Regions from separate parts of the Homo sapiens genome. Here all the other regions are linked to region 2. The links are contacts of gene promoters, found by promoter capture Hi-C in blood cells and fetal thymus (Javierre and others, 2016). All regions are on one chromosome and are shown on one strand. The core of a region is centred on a gene start or on the middle of the fragment in contact, and the rest is flanking DNA. Distances in the headings are between cores, read along the strand shown. Region 1 holds the start of NCKAP1 (NCK associated protein 1). Region 2 holds the start of UBE2E3 (ubiquitin conjugating enzyme E2 E3). Region 3 overlaps NUP35 (nucleoporin 35).

Region 1 (2,831 bases), core at 122-2,621, 2.1 Mb after region 2:
TATCTTTACATGGACTTTTCTAAACTTCCAGTGGTCTTCCACTCCTTACTGTACTGAGGACATGTAAAAGCCTTTAAATGGGCCTATTAGCTATAGTTGCTCAAATTATCAGACTATGCTATAAATCAGCAGCAATTGCAACATTTTTACGGTTTTTATTTTGTACAGACACCGAACTTTAAGAAATGGTATTGGAAAATCTAACATGAGGAGGAGTACAGGGGAAAGAGTAGAAGGTTGTTATTCCAGTTCTAGTGACTCACAGCCTAGAAGTATTTCAGAAAATTGGTTCCACCCTCACTTCCCCCTCCTCTCCACCTTCAAAATGAAATAATCCCAAATCGTCAACACACTCTCAATGGCTTTTTATTTAGCAATCTAAAATAAAGTGGCAAAGTGGAGGGGATACGGGATTCATCCAATCAGCCCTTCTCTACCCACATTCCCACACCAAAAAATGGGGATGTGGGGTGTAATCCCTGTTCACTGCTGCCATCTCCGTAAGAATATGGAACACTCAAGTTTTCCTACCCACCTAGAATTTCGCCCACCCACCACCCTCCCTTTCCTATGGGCCCCATCATGGGGGCGGGGGCGCCGAGGAGGGGACAGCTCCCGGCTCCCAGCGGCGCCCCCACCCCGTGCGAGGCCCAGCGCCCGATCCCGCCGCCGGGAGCCGGGAAATGGCTTCTCTGCCTTCGGCCGGCCGGCGAACCACAGGGAGAGGCGCCCGGGACTCCGCATTAGGCCGCGGCGCATCCAGGCGACCCCGGGCCGGGCCTCGGGCGGCGACGCCGAGATTTCTACACCCGGCGCCTCCTGCCGCCCCCACCCCACGGCCTCCCTTGCCCTTCATCCCTCCCGGGCCCGCCCGCCTCCGCCGCGGCCTCCCCGGCCCGTGCGCACCTTCTTGATGTTGTAGAGGCGGGTGAGCATGCCGACGCCCCGGTCGTTGAGGATGGTGAGCTTCTCCGCCAGCTTCTGCTGACTGGGCTGCAGCACTGAGCGCGACATGGTGGTGCTGGTGCCGCCGCCGCCGCCGGCCGCCTCGCGCCCAGTCACGGGCCCGCGGCCTTCGCAGCAGCCTCTCTCGGGCCTCCTCCCCTCCCGCCCGCGACCTCCGCCTTAGGAGAGCGCGCCCATGGCCCTCGCGCCCCAATCCCGCGCCGGCGACAGAGCGAGCCGCGGCGGACTCCTCGGAGCCCCTTCTCCCGCAGCAGCCCGCGCCCCGGCAGCCTCCTGCCTTCCGCCCGCCGCCCTTCCGCCCCCACCCCCGGCGCTCTCCGCCCCAGCCCCCAACGAGCCGCCTTCCCCGGCTGCTCCACTAGGTGTGGCGGCGGCGGCGGCGGCGGCGGCGTCTCCGGCGGCTGAGAACGAGGCCGCTTCCCGCAGCCCCGGACGGGCCCTCGGTCACCTGATCGGCAGCGCCGGCGCCCCCGCGAGGCCGGACGGGGAACTGCGGCCGACGGGCCCTCGGCATGGCCTCGCCGCCGCCGCTCTGGCCCTGGCCCTGGCCCGGACCGCCCACTACGCCTGATGCCGGGATGGGAGTCCCAAGCGGGGACTGAGTGGGGTCGCGTTGTGTGCTCTTTCCACTTCGCCCCACACCCCACTCCTTCAAGTTCCCAAAAGTTGCTTTTCCGCACCACCCTTCTAAAGAAACCGGCAGAAACTCTGCTGGGAGGCGGGGTGTTTTCCAGGCGAGTTTCGCTTAAGAGTGGGCTGGTGGCTCCAAGCGCTTTTTCCTCCCACTGCTTGACAGGCGCTCGCCGCAGAACACAGCAGATGTTGTGCTCCGCGAGGTGGGGATCGCCTCTGCCAGCCTCCCCAGCCCATCCTCAGTCTCCCCGCCTGGAACCAGTTTGTGAGAGAGGAGGTCGGAAGTGAGGGTAACTCAAGTCCTTGAGATAATCACAATCTAGACTTTGTCGGCGAGGAGCACCCATCCGGAGGAGACGCAGTAGGTCCTGGCATGTGGAAGGCAAAAAATAAATGTTTGTTCAATGCCTAAAGGAACCGCTCCCATTTTTTTACAGCCTCCACCCTAAATCCCACTTCTTCTTGGAAACATTCTTCTTTGCCATCTCATTTTTCCTGATCAATTTCTTCTTAGCGACACTCCAAGGCTACTCCCTTGTCAAATGTATTAGACATGATTCCAAAAGTGAACTAACTGAGGACTTACGTAATTGAGGTGAGAAACTTCAGCCAAGAGGACTCAGGCCTCTAATATTTTTGGCTTTGCCTTTTCTCGATATGTTAATTTTTTATATTATATTCATTAATTTTAAGTCAGTAACAAAATGTCCCGCCACATTCAATAAGACATTCTAAGAGTAATAAGCCATCACTGGATTTATCAAAACTCTTTAAGAAAAGGAAATTGTAATGAATAGCTTTAAAATATTTTTTAAAGCTACTATATCTACTATTCGTAAAGAAATCTTCATTTTAATATTCCAACAAGAAAGAAGGAGTGGACTGAATGGATTTAATCTAAGGGGCATTTAAAAGAGTCCTGTTCCCACCAAAAGAAGTCATAATCATACCTGCCAGTGTGCCTGAAATTCTATATACAAAGCTGCAGTACCTTGAATGAATGCTTTGTACCTAGAGAGTCTTAAGAATACAAACACTTCAGAGAGATCATCTGTCGAGCTATTACTAGTCATTAACTGGTCAAGGAATTTAATTTATCTGGTTACTTCTCAGCCTGATAGTTAACATTTTAATTTAGAGGAGGCAAGGTTGTGGGGCCTGGAATAGTAAGGGCAGACCTGAGAAGGGGAGGCTGCGAGGAGGGGTTTGGGGTAGCCAGATAAGAAAATTTA
Region 2 (3,087 bases), core at 576-3,075:
GTTACCAAACAACTAAATATCTTTCTCCCCTAAGCTCCTTACCCCACTAAATCCTATCAGCAATTGGCCTTTGGGCCTTCAGGCTATTTCTGTTCTTAAATTTCCTAAAAGAACCCATGTTTAACGTACAGCTTTCCTTTTCTGTCTCCCCATTCCAAACAAAGCAAAGCTTCAACTCCAAATTGGCTGGCTTTTGCTGTAACATCACATCGTGTAAAGCTGGGGGAAAATTCTGCTTTTATTTTCACTAACAAGCTTTTCCCACAAGCACTCTTTGACCCAGCCAAATCAAAATGCTTGTCCACACACAGACCATGATCTTTTTTGAGGCATGAGATATTCTATCTGTTCATTCTGAGTGGAATATCCTTACTACTTATGAACCTAGCGAACTTTAATGAACTGTTCCCCTTCTGGACTAGGAGCTCTTAGCACAGAGTAGAGACCTGGCTTTAGTCACACAGCAATTGAATGAGTGTATGTCCAGCACCTAGCAACATATAGCCCTCAATAAAGTTAACTGAATGACTGTGTCTTTGGAAAATTATGGAAATGTAACTTACTCTTTAGAGTTGCTATCAAGCCTTTACCAAAAGTTTTCTATTAGGAGAAATAGTAAGCAAATACGTTGGCTCACTCAGTCTTTTCTTCTTTCCCTTAACTCTATACATCTTTTGACTGCCATTCTCACTCCCTTTGTGAACTGCACATTCTCACAGCACCCCTGCCCCTGGACACTTGTGGGAGAGGAATCCACAAATTCCTTTGAGGCTCCATCACCGGAACAAGTTCTCAGTAGCTGGAGAAGGCCTGGGTGGCAAACAGGAAGTTTTTGTATTCTGGCTACTTTGTGCCGTGGGGTAAAAACCGCAGAGTCCACCTGGAGACTGCAAAAAGAATGGTAGAACAAACAAAACTGTCACTATCTCCACCTAAAGCTTTTCTGGGTGGACATTCTGACTCAACATCACTCAGAACTTTTCTTTCCAGAACTGGCTCCTCATGTGCAAGACAGAAGAGTCCCGCAGAAAAGTGTCATGTTTTAGCTCTCATCGCCACCCCCCAACCCCAAACTCTTCTCCTTCACTTTTAAGAATGTTGAGCGGGACATTTTAAACACTGTTTTGGATTTTTAAGGTTTCAAATAATCCGAAGGACACTTCCCTTTGGCAGCGACAGTTGCAAGCTATGAGCCAAAAAGAAATAGAGGTTGTTCCCCTAATCTCCAAATACATTCTACCCTCTTCAATTCCCAGGACCCCAACTTGTCCCTTCCTCCAGCTTACGCGAGGGGCAAGTGGCAGCTCTTCTCCGCCTGCGTGCCTGGCCTCGTCAACAACACCCATTAGTCTCCCGTCTCCCGGGGCGGCGGGGGACTCCCAACCACGCGCCCAGGGCCCTTGCCCAGGTACTGGGGCCCCGGGAGCCACGACGGCCCCCGCGCAGGCGGATGGGATGGAACCAGCCCTGGGGACGCGGGTAGCCCAATGGGCAGCCTCGCCCCGGAGGCGGGCCCAGGCCGGAAGCCACCCCGCGGCACAGCGGCCCCGCGATACGGTGCCCGCGCCCCCGCCTTCTCTGGCACAGGCTCCGCGGCCAAGGGCGGCAGGGGCCAGCCCGCCGGGTCCCCGCCGCGCTCTTTGTCCTGGCCGCGCGCGGGCGGACGCGTGCACCCCCAGGGTGAGGGGAGGTGTGGAGAGCGCGCACGGGAGCGCGCGGGAACAGCTCGCGCCCGCCGGGCGTCGGCGGCGCGCGCCCCTCCGCCAGGCAAGCAGCGAGCACGCGCGTCGCCGCCGCGCCCGCCCCTCCCCCCCGCGCTCGCCTCGGAACTTGCTGACTGCGCGGCCGGGAGGAGCCGAGCCGGGCGGCGGCGGCGGGAGGCTACAGCGCGCGGGGGTCTCCCGCGTCCCCTCCGCCTCGCCGGGAGCTCGCGCCCTCGCCCAGCCGAGCTCCCACCCCCGCTTTTTTCCGAAGGCGCTGGGCGGCGCCACCCTCCGGCCGGAGCCCGGCACTGCACAACCCCCTCCGACTTTCAATGTTCCACACTCCCCGGCCAGAGCCTCCTCGGCTTCTTTTTTTCCCTCCCCCCCCTTCCCCCCCCCACAGCTGCCTCCATTTCCTTAAGGAAGGGTTTTTTTCTCTCTCCCTCCCCCACACCGTAGCGGCGCGCGAGCGGGCCGGGCGGGCGGCCGAGGTAAGGCGGCGGGGCCGGGGGGCCGCGTGGGGGGCGGCCGGGGCGGCGGCGGCGGTGGGGGAGGGGGCGGGGGCGGGCAGCTTTGTTCGCGCCGGGCGCCCGCGTCGCCGGTGTCCGCGAGCCGCGGCGGGGCCGGCTGGGCTGCTCGCATCACTTGGCGCCCGGCGCGGCGAGCGCTACCCGCGGCCCCCGCGCGGCCCTCCCCACAAAGGGCCGCGGAGCTGCGTGGCCGCCGCCGCCGGCCGTGGCTCGCCTCCGCGGGCGCGGAAATTTGTTGCACTTCTTGGGGCTTTGTTTATTTGTTTGTTTTTTCTCTGGGTTTCTTATTTTTTTCGTTATTTTGGACAAAATGTCGGTCCGTGATATAAAAATTGAGCGAGGAACCTTGGTGGCATTGGGAGCTTTGCAGAAGGTGCAGTTTGAATTCTGCTTTTCCCAGGGTGGCAGCTCGGTCTTGGCCGGATGAATCTTCGCTGCTGGCCGTGGAAACAGCTAGAGCAGCTCGTTAGTTGATTTTTAAATTTCCAAGTGTTGTGTTTAAAGGCTTTACGTGCACTGAGGAGGAATCGCCACCTTAAATAAGCATATGGGCGATTAACAGGGTGTGTTTTCCTCTCGGAAAGGGAATTTGGTAGCTTTGACCAATGTCAGTGTGTAAATATTTAGACGTTATTAGTGACTTTTAAACATTTTTCAGCGAGATCTGTTATTTACAGTGTGTCATATGTTATTAATGCTTGTTGCCTAAGTTCCTTGGCAAATCTGTTTCATGCCTTCTGAGAAAGTAGACAATTGATAGATTGTCCAAGAGACGGAAAAAAATGTGAGTGGGTTTTCTAACTTGAGTTCGGCAAATCCCTTAACGCTGGCGTTGTGTGACACATCACCTCCCT
Region 3 (2,869 bases), core at 221-2,720, 2.1 Mb after region 2:
GAAGACTAAATAGTTGGCAGCTTTCGGATATTAAGAAACAGATTGTTAAGGCCATCTAGAAGTTAAGTAATAGTTAATAAAAAACCATACAAATAACATAGCAAACATTTGACCCTTCTGAGTGCAATGAGTCACACTCAGGCTTGTCACCTAGTTGAAAATTATTTTCATAAGCAGAGATTGCAAATTCTACATTTATACTTTACTCAGTTTTTGCTATTATAAAATATTTGTAGAAAATAATAATTCGTATTTATTGAGCACCTGTGTATCAGGTACCAGGTCAAGCTATACTTGCTATAATTCTAACAAAAGCTCTGTTAGTGGATGCTAGCTATGCTTATTCCCTTTTACTGAGAGAACTTGAACCCACATCTTTGACTCCATAGCCCATTGTTTTCCTTATTCTGCTATTTTGCTCTGAAATTAGAATTATATAGCTCACTCATCTTCATAAGGGAAATAATATCTACTCTATAGATTGTGAGGATTTATTTTGTATCAATTGTGAGGTTTCAGTTCTCTAAGTTGGCTTTATATTAGGGGGATATTTAATGATGATTCTTTAATTTTTTTTTTTTTTTAAATAAAAAAGATGAGATCTCAGTGTGTTGCCCAGGCTGGTCTTGAACTCCTGAGCTCAAGTGATCCTCCTGCCTTGGCCTCCCAAAGTGCTAGGATTGCAGGCGTGAGTCACCATGCCCAGCTGTGATTATTCTTGACTTAAACTAATGATTAAGAAAAAAGATACAAAAATAAGTTTTCGACTCTTTTCAACATGTTTCTGAGTTAGGGTGCTAGTTATCACTGTTATTTTGTAAGTGCTCTAATATATGCATGGTTACGGTTTTATCACAATAATGATGAACTTTTTATGGGGAAGAAAAAGAAACAATTTAGCAAGCTTAACCCATTGTGTTTGATATGCTAAGCTTTGTATGTATAAGTAGTGCAGCCTGTCCTTGTTTTTGGTTGTTACATAGTCCAAACTGATTCGGAAATGGAAAGAAGTTATTAGTGTGATTTTTAAACCCCTGAAATAATGTAAACAAAAATAGCTGTCACAGATAAATATTGTGCTGCCAGGTGTACTGGCTTCACACCTTTAATCTCAGCACTTTGGGAGGCCAAGGCTGGTGGATCACCTGAGCTCAGGAGCTCCAGAGCAGTCTGGGCAGCATGGTGAAACCCCATTTCTGCAAAAAAATACAAAAATTAGCTGGGCGTGGTGGTGCAGGCCTGTAGACTTAGCTACTGAGAGGCTGAGGAGGGAGGATCGCTTGAGCCTAGGAGGTGAAGGTTGCAGTGAGCTGAGATTGCGCCACTGCACTCCAGCCTGGTGACAGAGTGAGACTCGGACTCAGAAAAAAAAAAAAAGTGAATACAAGATAACTTTACATTTTTCTAGAAATATTTTTTGTTGGCTTTTAAAATAATAAATTCAACTATGGTTCTATTATATCTAAAAGTTTTGATTAAATTTGCAAAATTATGTTAGATTCTTGCATGTTTTTGTCATCAACATGTAACAGAAACTGTAACAGAAAAGTCCTTAATTTATTTTTTGATTCATGTAGGATCTGAACCAATGATGCTGGGTTCACCCACATCTCCAAAGCCAGGAGTTAATGCCCAGTTCTTACCTGGATTTTTAATGGGGGATTTGCCAGCTCCGGTGACTCCACAACCTCGATCAATTAGTGGCCCTTCAGTAGGAGTAATGGAAATGAGATCACCTTTACTTGCAGGTAGGTGAATTGCTTAAAATAATTTTATAGACATGCTAGATACAGGGATGTCCAATTTTTTGGCTTCCCTGAACCACATTGGAAGAAGAATTGACTTGGGCCACACATAAAATACAGTAACTCTAATAATAGCTGATGAGCTAAAAAAAAAAAAAAATGCAAAAAAAATCTTAAAATGTTTTAAGAAAGTTTACCAATTTGTGTTGGGCAACATTCAAAGCCATCCTGGGCTTCATGCGGTGTTCAAGCCATGGGTGGGACAAGCTTGTGCTAGAATTTTTAAAAGTGTAGTGGTGCAGCATTCACCCTCATCAATACATTAATTAAAAAAAATTAAGCAATGTGTCTATTATAAAGCAAAGCTTTTAAGGCTCTTGGAATAGAGGTGTAAGAAGTATAAGCTATAATTTCTAGAGCCACTAAAATGTATTCTATGTTTTTTTCATTCTAAGATGCCTTTGAATTGGCTTTTAAGTACCACTAGGAAAGATAACCCTAAATATGACACAATGCTAAGATGCCATTTTTTGTAAAATTTCTGTGTCGGAGATGTCAGAGTGTGGTGGGGGAAGAGTGCCTCACAGAGTTGATGAAATACCATCATTTAGCTTCAACTGAATTCATTTAAAGTAATTCATCTTAAGATACAAGAATAGGAAATAATCGGTCAAAAGAAGTGTAACTTGAAGATGTAGATACGAATTCTGCCTTTAGTCTTAGTGAATTGAGATTCTCACATATAGCGTGTTTAAGGAAACTTGGGGGGGAGGTTTTATACACAGAATTTGTGATTGTCAGGGCAAAGTATTGTAAATGCAGCCTGTGTTTATTACAGAACTCCTTTAGCAAAGAAATACTTTAAAAAATGACTTCGAAGTTTTAACTGAGTAGTGAGAATTAGATACAGAAGTGTTGAATTCTAATTGTGAGCTAATATCCTTTAGTAGTAGTTCAAGTGAAAACTCTTTTTACCTTAATTGCCCTTTAAAGTATTTTTGCTTTAAAATGGTTTATTATTTAGGATTTATCAGGGAGAATTATAAATTATATTTGAAGTAATTCATTTAACATTAAACATTAAATTTCAAATGTGTTATTTTATTATGGTAGCCAACGTATAT

The links. Contacts are between HindIII fragments. The CHiCAGO score rates a contact against its expected background, and 5 or more counts as called.
Region 1: the fragment with the promoter of NCKAP1 here is called in contact with the fragment with the promoter of UBE2E3 in region 2 in 10 of 17 cell types (activated CD4 T cells, fetal thymus, naive B cells and 7 more); the score reaches 15.6 in activated CD4 T cells.
Region 3: a fragment that was not itself captured here is called in contact with the fragment with the promoter of UBE2E3 in region 2 in 1 of 17 cell types (activated CD4 T cells); the score reaches 5.1 in activated CD4 T cells.

Annotation. Positions count from the first base shown.
Region 1 is chr2:183,037,086-183,039,916 of GRCh38, forward strand. NCKAP1 (NCK associated protein 1) reads right to left here and starts at 1,372. Exons shown (of 31, transcript NM_013436.5): 1 at 907-1,372. The coding sequence starts at 1,014. RefSeq lists silencers at 792-911, 972-1,561, 1,294-1,945. The HindIII fragment of the contact is 8,317 bases long and covers 1-2,831 here.
Region 2 is chr2:180,978,780-180,981,866 of GRCh38, forward strand. It overlaps UBE2E3 (ubiquitin conjugating enzyme E2 E3), which reads left to right and starts at 1,826. Exons shown (of 6, transcript NM_006357.4): 1 at 1,826-2,194. It overlaps UBE2E3-DT (UBE2E3 divergent transcript), which reads right to left and starts at 2,233. Exons shown (of 2, transcript NR_187176.1): 1 at 1,287-2,233; 2 at 1-887. RefSeq lists a silencer at 1,244-2,103. The HindIII fragment of the contact is 2,197 bases long and covers 937-3,087 here.
Region 3 is chr2:183,126,710-183,129,578 of GRCh38, forward strand. It overlaps NUP35 (nucleoporin 35), which reads left to right. Exons shown (of 9, transcript NM_138285.5): 2 at 1,578-1,748. Among named protein-coding and RNA genes, the nearest start is that of NUP35, 3.7 kb to the left of the region's middle. The HindIII fragment of the contact is 1,080 bases long and covers 931-2,010 here.